2 separate regions of the Homo sapiens genome follow, and region 1 is linked to region 2. Evidence: promoter capture Hi-C in human tissues and cell types (Jung and others, 2019). All regions are on one chromosome and are shown on one strand. Each heading gives the region's core, a stretch centred on a gene start or on the middle of the fragment in contact. The rest is flanking DNA. Distances are from core to core; before and after follow the strand shown.

Region 1 (5,769 bases), core at 1-2,500, 260 kb before region 2:
GTGAGCTGAGATCACGCCACTGCATTCCAGCCTGGGTGACAGAACAAGACTGTCTCAGAAAAAAAAAAAAAAAAATAATTTATTTTGTGCTTTTGATTTTTTCTAGAAATTTACTTATACGAAAAGAACTATTTATTTGTTTTAAAGAGATGGAGTCTTACTATATTAGCCAGGCTGGTCTCAAACTCCTGGTCTCAAGCAATCCTCCCTCCTCAGCCCCCTAAAGTGCTGGGATTACAGGCATGAGCCACTGTGCCCAGCACCTGAAAAAGCACTATTTGGTAGAGTCATGTTTTAACATAGACTCAAAACTTCCCTGCCCCTGAGCAGGGGCCACAAAGTCCCAGTCTGGCTTCTGTGTCATGTTTAGAGGATGTGGGGTCCAGACAGAATCATCAATGGTCAGGGTCAGGGCTCAACCTAGGGTCCAGAGTGGTTATGTCTGGGAGGCTCAGTGGTATAGCTAGGAGTGGAATTCAAGCATAACACTATTGAGAGGCCAACTGTGGGCACTAGGGAGGGAAGAGGGAGCAAGTGTTCTAAGTGCAACAGACTATGTATATCCCTGTGCCTGAAAGAACTGGTCCCAGCCGGGTTCTGGCCCCCAAGGTTTGTAAGGTTTAGAAAGTGGCCAATATCTCTTGTGATGTCTCAGGCACAGAGATAAATGTGCAAGGAACTATGTACCTCTTCTGGCCCCTGTGGGGTGGACTCTGGCTGGGTGATAGGGAAGGCAACTAGGTAAATATTGTGGGAGTCAGTGAAGGTGGGTAGTTTACCTCCTTGTATTGGATGTGGTTTCACCTGCGACGGGACATGTGGGGCTAAGACTTCAATTTCCCCTTCAATCGGAAGCCCTCCAAGCTCCAGAGCATCTCCTCCTTGAAATTTTCCCTATTTTCCCACCCACACGAAAGAGGCTCTGCCTGGAGCACCACCTGTTTCCCCACTACCCCTTCACTGCTCAGGGTGAAGCAGCATCAAATGACCCTCTCCCCAGCAGGGTGGTCTTAAGCTTTCACCTCCTAGGGGCATTTCACAGGGGCAGTAGAAAACCAAAATACCCTTTTGACCTTAAAAAACAATGCCTTACACCTCTACTGAAAGTGCTTGTTTGCTGAATTGAAGACTTTAAGGAATGAAGTTATAATGGTAGGATTTCAATTGAAATTCCTGTGCAGATATGTGACCCCAAGTGAGGCCCCTATGTTTGGGGAGTAGAGGCTCTGACCTCTAGCCATCCATCCTTTGGCCCAACTCGTTCTTTCTTTTCTAGAAGTGCCATTCCCCCTTCCCCCTGCTGCTGCTCTCTTGAAGCTGTGCTACGGGGGCCCAGTCTCGGTGAGACCGATTGTCTGCCTTTCCCCAATCCCTACCAAATCCACTTTCCGTCCCCTCCCGCCGCCATCCTGCTCAGGATTATGTAATAGGAAGTTCTCAACTAGACTCCCTGGGGAGGGAAAAGGGGCCTGAGAGGGAAAAACAGCACAAGAATACAGAGCACAAGAGGCACAACCTTTTCCTGTTCTCTAGACTGAGAGCTCCCCAGAACGGGGCCTCCTCTTCTGTTTTCTCCCATACCTCCCCGCAACCCTGGAGCCATGCAACCCAGGGCTCGCCGCATAAGGCCGAGTATTCTACCCTCTCCTCAAGCTGCTGGAAAGATCCTTGGGCAGGACTAGCCTTAAGATAAAAAGCAGGCTGCTTCCTTGGGAGCAGGGGTGTGTCTGGAGAGGGTAGGGTATCAGCAGAAGCCCCACTGAGTCGAACAATGGCAGGAAAGGAAACCACGCAGTTGCCACTGCATTTTTCTTCAAGGCTGAGTCTGTGCAGACCTTTCCTGGAAGGGATGGTGGTATAGCTGTTTCCAGAATAGAAGGTAGTATTTCTTCAAATGCCTTTCAAAATATGATGGGGTGTGTGTGTGTGTGTGTGTTTGTGTGTGTGTGTCTCCCTCACAGAAGCAGAGACAGAGGAGTGAAAAGAAGCCACATCATAGATGCCTTGAACACCAAAGCTTTGATTTTTTTCTAAATGACATGATTGAATTTCACGAAGATTTCCTTGGCTGCTGTGTGGATTGGTGGTTTGCCGGGTCCAAGAGCGGAAAGAATTAGGAGACCACTACAGTGGTCCAGGCTCCAGTTGATTAGGTCTGATGTGGGATAGTGGCCAGGGGACAAAGAAGTCAACATTGGCCCTTACTCAGGGAGGGGAGAAACGACCAGAGTACTTGGTGAGGGGAACCAGGAGAATAAGATTTGCTCTGGAGCCAGATCCAGGGTTAGAAATCTGGGGAAACAACAACAAAAACTCTCCCAGAAAACCCATAGCTTGGGCTCATAGAGCAGGCTTGGCTGGGGCTCAACCCATTCATATAGTGTTGGAAGGGAAACTGAGACACACTCTCAGGAACAGAAGGTCACAGAATGGGAGCCTAGGCTCCAGTCCCAGGCTTCCTGCAATGGCCACTCAGTTCATCCCCAGTACTCCTGAAGGGAGTTCCCATTTATGCATATCACACCCACCACCCACCAGCCCAGGGGTAGAGGGCAGACCAGTGAGGAATTCTGGCTACAACAAGGCTGCTGGAAGCTCCACAGGGGAGGGTCAGCACCCGCCCCCACCCAGATCCAGATGTGCAGAGAGAGATAAATTTGGAATGTGCAGGGATAAGGGACTGGAAAAGGCTGGCAGGAGCCAGGGTTCCTGGCACCCTGGGAAATTAGGGATAGGGATAGCTGGCAGCCCAGTTCTTTTCTCTTTCCCTAACTCCAAGAAAGATCCTCGTGAATCCTGACATTTCAGCATGCCCTCCCAATTACTTGAATCTTTTTTTAGCATCAATGGAGAAAGGGGAAACACTTCTCGGCCTAGAATCAGGCCCACTTGGTGGCAGCTTCAGAGATGCACATTTCAGCTAGCTCCCATCCTTGGAGGTATACAGACTGGGATGGGCCATGCTGTTGAAAGGGGATGAGTTCTGGGTCTGAGATTCTAGATCCCTGCAAACAGGATACCAACGTTCTAGTGCAGCTGTGGTTACTAATTTTCCATATGACCTCAGGCCAATACCCTCCTCTCTCAGAGCTTCAGTTTGTTCATCTGTGCTTTTGTGATTAATGGGGTCAATGGCAGAAGCCAGACAAGAAACCAGATCCCAAGCCAAGGGCCAGTTTGTTGGAATTTGCCCAGACAAGGTGTGCAGTCTGGTTTCCATCCAGGCCGTCAGACACTCCTGCCTGCCTTCAATGCCCTTCTAAAAGGTACTCCTCCTCCAGGGAAGCCTCACAGATTATCTTCTTCCCCCCCATGTCATACACTGCTTGGTCCAGGGCTGTCCAATAATACTTGTTGCAACTATGGAAAAGTTCTATAATTTGCACTGTCCAATATATTAGCCACTAGTCACATATGGCTGTTGAACATTTGAAGTGTGGCTAATGTGCCTAAAGAACTGAATTTTAATTAATTTTAGAAGTAAATTTAAGAAGCCATATGTGGCTACTCACTACCATATTGGACAATACAGGTTCTAGCCAAGGCTTTTCTCTCTTTGTTCCTTGTTTATAATAGTTCATAGGAGTTACCATTTATTGAGCACTTACTCTTTGCCAATTTTTGTGTGTTTTATTTATTTTTTTCCTCTTTTTTTTTCTTAATTTATTATACTTTAAGTTATAGGGTACATGTGCACAACGTGCAGGTTTGTTACATATGTATACATGTGCCATGTTGGTGTGCTGCACCCGTTAACCCGTCATTTACATTAGGTATATCTCCTAATGCTATTCCTCCCCACTCCCCCTGCATAGGGTTTTATACACATCTCAGTGAATCCTAGAAATTCCATTTTAAAGATGAAGAAACCAAGGTTAGGTAAAACTGGTTTCAGGTTGCATAGAAAGCTGGAGAACCATTCAAATGTGGGTCATGTTCTCCAGCCATTTAAGGAACTTTCCAGGGCCCAGCCTGGGGTTCTCCTTCTACACTTACTCTAGAGCACATGGCTGGACACCAGGGCCTGGGGAGGCTTATCAGTGAGTATCAGTTGGTAGATGGTAGACACTTGATGAAAAGGAGAGAAACTATATTCACTTTCCATCTCCCAGGGACCCAGGAATCCTGGCTCCTGACATCCCACCTTGAGGTATCTCTCTTTTTGCCTTTCTCCTGGACTACAGTGTCCCTTGGGTCACAAACTCAGAGTTCAACTGGTGCTATGTACAGAGGACGGGGGAGGGGGTGTCACAGCAGGCCCAGAGAAAGCCATCCAGGCTGAGAGCTGGGTTCTAGAAGGATCCTTGTTTTTAATCAATAAAACAAGAAATAGTATTATAATAGCTACCATTTATTGAGCACCTACTTTGTGCCAGGCACTTTACATACATTTGTGCTTATAATTCTTACAACAACCTCGGGAGGTAGGCATTATTATCACCATTTGACATATGAGAAAACAGAGGCTTAGCAAGGTTAAGCGGCTTGTTCAAGGTCACAGAGCTGGTAGATAAGTGATAGAATCAGCACTTGAGTTGTGCATCTGTGAGGGCCCCAAAGCTTTCATCAGGCATTTTCCACACTGAGAAAATAAAGAAGGTAGAGGAGTGGTGTATTAGTCTGTTTTCACACTGCTGATAAAGACATACCCGAGACTGGGTAATTTATGAAGAAAAAGAGGTTTAATGAACTCACAGTTCCATGTGGCTGGGAGGCCTCACAATCATGGTGGAAGGCAAAAGGCACATCTTACATGGCAGCAGACAAGAGAGAATGAGAGCCAAGCAAAAGGGGAAACCCCTTATTAAACCATCAGATCTCGTGAGACTTATTCACTACCACCAGAACAGTATGGGAGAAACTGCCCCTATGATTCAATTATCTCCCACCAGGTCCCTCCCACAATTATGGGAGCTACAATTTAAGGTGATATTTGGATGGGGACACAGCCAAACCATATCATTCTCTCCCTGGCCCCTCCCAAATCTCATGTCCTCTCATTTAAAAATCAATCATGCCTTCCCAACAGTCCCCCAAAGTCTTAACTCATTTCAGCATTAACTCAAAAGTCCATACTCCAAAGTCTCATCTGAAACAAGGCAAGTCCCTTCCACCTATGAGCCTGTAAAATCAAAGGCTAGTTAGTTACTTCCTAGATACAACGGAGGTACAGGCATTGGCTAAATACACCCATTTCAAGTGGGAGAAGTTGGCCAAAACGAAGTGGCTAAAGGCCCCATGCAAGTCTGAAATCCAGCAGGGCAGTTAAATCTTAAAGCTCCAAAATGGTCTCCTTTGACTCCATGTCTCACATCCAGGTCACACTGATGCAGGAGGTGGGTTCCCATGGTCTTGGGCAGCTCCACCCCTATGGCATTGCAGGGTACAGCCTACTTCTCGGTTGCTTTTACAGGCTGGCGTTGAGTGTCTGTGGCTTTTCCAGGTGCATGGTGCAAGCTGTCAGTGGATATACCATTCTGATGTCTGGAGGACGGTGGCCTTCTTCTGACAGCTCTACTAGGCAGTGTCCCAGTGGGGTCTCTGTGTGGGGGCTTCCCCTTCCACATTGCCTTAACAGAGGTTCTCCATGAGGGCCTCACTCCTGTAGCAAACTTCTGCCTGGACATACATGCATTTCCATACATTCTCTGAAATCTAGGCAGAGGTTCCCAAACCTCAGTTCTTGACTTCTGTGCACCTGCAGGCTCAACACTACGTGGAAGATGCCAAGACTTGGGGCTTGCACCCTCTGAAGCCAAGGCCTGAGCT
Region 2 (5,879 bases), core at 1,839-4,338:
AGCTTATAGAATGGCTGACTGATTAGCAGACATTGCCAAGGCAATAGTTCCTGCCTAGAACTCTGACACTGCAGAGCTTTCTCACATGAAAGAAAGATGTTGAAACTCATGCCAATACTCTCTCTGTTCTTTAATGGCAATGCTCTCTGCCCCTACCCTTTCCTAGAAGCTCCTCTGTCTAGTGAGCAGAAGTGAGGAAGGTTCTGAAGGAAAATCCAAGAGGCAAACTATTGATAGAACACTGGACTAGCTCCCACTGTGGCTGGCACCATGGCCTGCAGCTGGTGCAGAGGTATACTGTACTCAATGTCTACTAGAGGATCCATAGGATCCTCAACCCAGAACCAGGCCACAATTCCAGAGAGCAGCATCCAGGGCTTGTATCCACCAGAAGACTGGATGGAGAGGCCATCTCTGTGCTTAACCTCCCCGACGACCCACATCCTCAGATGCATGTACACATGTAGTCCAGCATTACCTGCTAGGATGAATTGCAGCTTAGAGGCATCAGGTATGGCAATGCGGTCGATGTACTCAGGATCCAGGTACTTGATCAGATCTTCAACTAGAAAAGTAGCAAGATGGAAAATGGAATAGGGTTGGGCAGTAGAGCTCTGCCTTATGAAGGATGTTTGACAAGTGGTCAGCCTTGAGGAGAGCCTTCAATGAGGAGCTGATACCCAACAGTGCCACATGAGCAGGGCTCCACCAGGCTCCCTATCCCCACTTCCCTATCTCTCCACTCTCTTCTCTTGAAGTCTCTTCTGACATCAAGCTTCAGAGCTGAAAACACAATTGCCACCACCACTCTGGGCCCTTAGCATTCTCACTGACCTATCCTCACCAAGGGTAGAAGGCCTCTTTTCTCCTAGATGTCACCGAGACAAGCCAGAGCTTTGTCTAATTTCTAGTTACTAAGCAGGTTACTAGTTCTGACATAACCAGGATCTCAGTGTCTAATTTGTTTCCTGCCCCTTAACCTTGCCTGGGAAATCCCATACCCTTTTTACCCTCCTTCACCAAGAGAAGCTTTCAGGTAGAGCTCTTATTTCATAACTTAGGACACTGTCATGGGCTTGAGGTTTAGCCACAAGGTAGAAAAGCACACCACAATTTACCAATTGAATTGGGTGTAGGTAAATGTCCTCATAATCTTTCTATCCCCAAAGGGCTATTCCAGTGACCTAATGAACTGAAGGGCTAGGGCCAGGTACCAGGAAGCTGAGGGGTGGGATGTCGGGCAGGCAGGCACATCATGGAAGCACTTACTCTTTTTGTAGAGAATCTTCACCCTCTCCCTCTTGCTGGAAATGTTCCCCAAAGCCACCTGCACCTTGACCAGGCCGTCAGCCACCTGTAAGGGAAGTGGTGGTTAATTCCAAGATATACTACCTGGCTCAAGGCTTGGAAAAGTTAAAGAACCCTCATTCTCCCAGACTCTCAAACCTGAATCCCAGTAATCTAGGTTGGCCTCCCTTCTCTAATATTAAAGGAGATGCAGCCCCACCTTCCAGGAATCCTTAAAGTGGAGAGAGAGAATCATGTACTCCTTGGGGAGTTTCAAGTCTGATGGGGAAGATAACGAACTATTTTAGAGTCTATGGAATATAGAGTATACACAATATATTTTCTGGTTCCTAAGTCCTGGGTTTGGGCATGAGAAACACAAGCATCCTCATTCAAGCCTTCATGACCTCTAGATTGGCTGGCCTACCTCTAGCCCTATCCCCTCCACATCAAATTTGGTGTGGGAGATGGAAGAGTCCAAACAACTGGGATCCCAATGATGGTGCAATCACTGAATTAGGGAATACAGAAGAGAATCAGGTTAGGGGAGAGAAAGAGTACAGTTAAGGGCATACAGATTGAGTTTGAAATGACTATTGGATATCCAAGTGGAAAAGTCCAGTAGACAACTAGACATAAAAGTCTGGTTCTCAGAACAGAAATCTGGACCAGAGATATACATTTGAGACATATTGACATGTAAATAGTAATTGACACCATGGAAGCGAGTGAGCCTACCTAAAGTTTAGGGGTAGAATGTAAAGAATCCCAATATTAAAGGGTCAAATAGAGGAGGAGACTAAGGAAGTGACTGCACTCACCCAGTTTTTAGGGTAGAGGATGAGGAATGCCAGGGGGGAGGCAAATAACACTGAGAAGCAGCCGTAAGAGGTAGAAGGAAAACCAGGAGGGTCAGCGTCATAGATCCCAAAGGAAGAGAATGTTTGAGAAGTTAGTTCTGAAATGGGAGCACAGTCTGCTAGTGACAACTAATTCCTCATTTAGTGTACAAACAGACATCATTACCTTGGACGCACTTAGCTCCAGGACATGCCTGACACGCCATCAGAAGTTCTTCAATAAAAGATCTTCCCATAGTAGAAAGGGGAGGAGAGGGCACCTGAGCTTCGTAGTTGTCAAAATTCTGTCACTGGTATAAAGCAGTGCTAGTCCACATCTGAATACCCAGTACCCAGTCTCTTCCCTTCCTAATCCTGGTCCTTTCAGACCTCACTTCTCACCCTTTGGCGTTTTCCTTATCCACCTCTGCTCTGCCTCCCCAGGGGTCCCATGGACCTCTTCCTGCACAATTCATTTAGCAATTAATTATGCAGGGCTCTATGACGGGCCTTCCTATCGTGGACTTCAGCTCTTATTGAAACTCTCATTAGTCAGCTTCTCGTGTCAGGTCTCCCCAACTATAGCTCGCGAGGGCAAGGGCGGAGTCTCAGCTACAGTAGGTACGGAGCCCACTCTCAGGCTGGCTTAACCACCCGCAGAGCCCCCTATGACAGTGGACCCCGATGGTCCAATCAGCTCTGGGAGGTCCCGGACCTTTGTTATTTCAAAGGCCGGGCTGCGGAGAACAGGACTGGAGCGGTTGCATCCCGAGGGCCAGGACAGTGGACCGCTCTTGCTCTGCTCCAGAAAGGGACTACCGGACCAGACTACTCACCTTCCGTGAGCCGCGCGCCCCGCCCGGCCCGTACACCCAGCGCTCCAGCTCTTCCACTCGGGCCTGTAGCCGCTGCAAGTCAGTCAGACCCGCCATCGCTACTACCGACCCACCTCGGCCAGGAAACAGCCAGAGGGCGGGACGTCAGTCCAAATAAGAAGGCTAGCCAATCCGAGTGCACGAGCGGCCCTTTATGCAGGAAGTGACGCCATGATTCAGCCCTTCAGTGCCGGAAGTTACTCCTCGGAGCTGTCAAAAGCTGATTACCTTGGCAACGGCTCTGTCCCATCCCTCCCCTGGCTTCCAGTGCCTGGTTGTCAAGATAACCTTTGCTTTTCGGGTACCAAAGAGCTTTCCCCACGCCATTCCCTGAGTTTGCACGTGTTCCAGGATAGGTCCATTCCCATAGATACATCATTAGGAGGCTCCGTGAGTTACCATAAACTTTTGGAGTCTTCTAAGGTTCAGTTGATTAAGTAACTTGCCCAAGGCCACCCAGCACTATAGGGACAGAAACAGGACTTGAACTCAGGCTGTCTGATTCAAGAGACGGAGCTCTTCTATTCTCACGAAACTTTGCTATTCTGCCTTAACCTCTGAAAGCCCCTGGCCCAAGGCAGCCTATGTTCCACATCATTCCTCCCCACCTCCCATACCCAAACAAGAAAGGAGGCATCAGAGAGGGAGGGACCGCAGCTTTATTGTCTAGATGTGACCTGAGGGATGTCTCTTTCACAGTACCCCAACCCAACCTTTCACTTGGCTCCTGAAGAGAAGCAGGGCTGACTCAAAAGGGTAGGGTCCTAGAGATGACATTGACAGAGGGAACACATGAGGAGATGATGGGGTTACTGGAGGAAGAACCCTTTGGTAGGTGCTGCTGGAATTGGCCAGGGAGGAGGTGCCCTCCCTTTACAATGAGGTAGGTGTAACATCAAAAGAAACTTTGGTTTTAAGTCCACATGGCATGGGAGGTGTCGTCCCCTCCCAGGGCTGGGTCCCAGAGTGGGCAGCCAGAAAGAATCAAAGCAGGGGGTCTCCTCCCCCCTCAGCAATGGGGCTGGGACTCTTAGTTTCAAGTAGGACCTCTCAGGGCAAGATGCTGGAAGGGGGCCCTGTGGAGGGTGGGGGTGCAGGGTTGGTTGGACCCTGGGAAGCTGGCACAGGCTGGCGGCGGGCAAAGAGGACACCTGGCAAAGGGGTGAGGAGATGGTAGAGGGCAAAAACAAGCAGGAGGGGGTAGGGTATGGAAACAGAAGAGGGGAACAAAAGTAAGTGTTCTGGTTGCTAGAACACTACACACGTACCCCTGCCACAAACCAATGAGGACAAGCTCCTTGGGTCAGTAAGAGACTCCATTGCTAATGTAGATACCTCAAACAGGTAAACAAGGAATATTTATGCTGATACATAGGCCCAAGACAAGGCAGACATCCCCTGGTACTCATGCCAGAGAGGTCATGCCTTGGATCCCATGCCATGTAGACACCCCCTTTAACCCATGCCAGTCTAGCAATCCCCTGAACTCCATGTTACTCATGCAAGTTTAGATATCCCTGAACTTCATGCTAGTAGAGGAAGTCTAAAATCCCCATGCCAGCCTAAATACCCCTGACCCCATGCCAGTGTAGACAGCCTGCAGTACCCATACCAGTGTAGACCACCCCGTTGATCTCTAGGGCCATGTTGATACTGCTGATGCCACTGCCTGCCAGATTAAGAGGCCCATCCAGCCGCTCTTCTGTCCAGGAGGGGGCAGAGGAATCACATTTTGGAGAATCAGACTTCTGACTTATTAATAGAATTTCCCCCCTCCATCCCCGTAGACAGCCCCCATTCCACTTCAGCCCCACACCTATACTCACACAGTTGTCTACAGAGGAATCTGTCTGCCCCGTCTCTAACACCTATCAGGTGATGGGTCAATCCTCCCTCAGTGTACAGTCCCGAAGCCCCCTCACAACAAGCCCCTCCTCACCCCTCAGGGGAACCTTGCCACGGGGCAGGAAACTGGGGGGCATGCAAGGTCGAGGTGGGTCCATAGGCCCCATCAGCACAGCTCTCTTCTCTGGGGGCTCCTCTGGTGCCAATTTCTCCCGTGTAGGTCCCAGTGCCAGGCCCACAGGCAGTGCCAGACAAGGGTTTGGAATTCCACTCTCCTCTAGAAGAACAGGTTATTCAGCTCCCCTGGCCAAACCAACCCATCTCTGCATTGGTTCTCCCCCAGGCCTGGGACCAAAAGAGGTAACTCAAGCTCATGTACCAATCTCTCATCCTTCATTCGATCTATCTTCCCATCCAGAGCCTCAGCCTGGAAGCGCTGAAGCTTTTCTCTAGAGCCCAAAGGATCAAGGTACATGTCTAGACAATTTGGGGGATTGTTTTTGGCTGTTGGTTATTAAATAATCCAGGTCACAAGAGGCACAAACTATATGCAAATAGGAGCACTGGGTGGACATGTGTGGAATGGAGTTGCTGTGATTAAAGGACCTTTTCCTGGCCGGGCGCGGTGACTCAGCCTGTAATCCCAACACTTTGGGAAGCGGAGGAGGGCGGATCACGTGGTCAGGAGATCGAGACCATCCTGGCTAACACGGTGAAACCCCGTCTCTACTAAAAATACAAAAATTAGCCGGGCATGGTGGCGGGCCCCTGTAGTCCCAGCTACTCGGGAGGCTGAGGCAGGAGAATCGCTTGAACCCGGGAGGCGGAGGTTGCCGTGAGCTGAGATCGCGCCACTGCACTCCAGCCTGGGCGACGGAACGAGACTCCGTCTCACAAAAAAAAAAAAAAAAGAAAAAAAGAAAAAAAAGGACCTTTTCCTGAACTTCAGCCCCTACACTTCAGTAACCCGTACCCCAGAGCTCTCATTTGGCCGCAAACCTCAGGACCCCTAAACCTTAGTGACCCCCAAACC

The links. The method cuts DNA at HindIII sites, captures the fragments that hold promoters and counts their contacts. A contact is called where the count stands out against the background at its distance.
Region 1: a fragment that was not itself captured here is called in contact with the fragment with the promoter of DCTN3 in region 2 in 2 of the 25 tissues and cell types used here (dorsolateral prefrontal cortex and thymus).

The regions. Positions count from the first base shown.
Region 1 is chr9:34,362,336-34,368,104 of GRCh38, forward strand. MYORG (myogenesis regulating glycosidase) reads right to left here. Exons shown (of 2, transcript NM_020702.5): 2 at 4,331-5,769. Among named protein-coding and RNA genes, the nearest start is that of MYORG, 12 kb to the right of the region's middle. The HindIII fragment of the contact is 4,076 bases long and covers 1-3,288 here.
Region 2 is chr9:34,617,407-34,623,285 of GRCh38, forward strand. It overlaps DCTN3 (dynactin subunit 3), which reads right to left and starts at 3,089. Exons shown (of 7, transcript NM_007234.5): 1 at 2,963-3,089; 2 at 1,270-1,354; 3 at 479-565. The coding sequence starts at 3,058. It overlaps ARID3C (AT-rich interaction domain 3C), which reads right to left. Exons shown (of 8, transcript NM_001017363.4): 6 at 4,941-5,123; 7 at 4,614-4,703; 8 at 3,643-4,152. The coding sequence ends at 4,052. The HindIII fragment of the contact is 3,867 bases long and covers 1-3,158 here.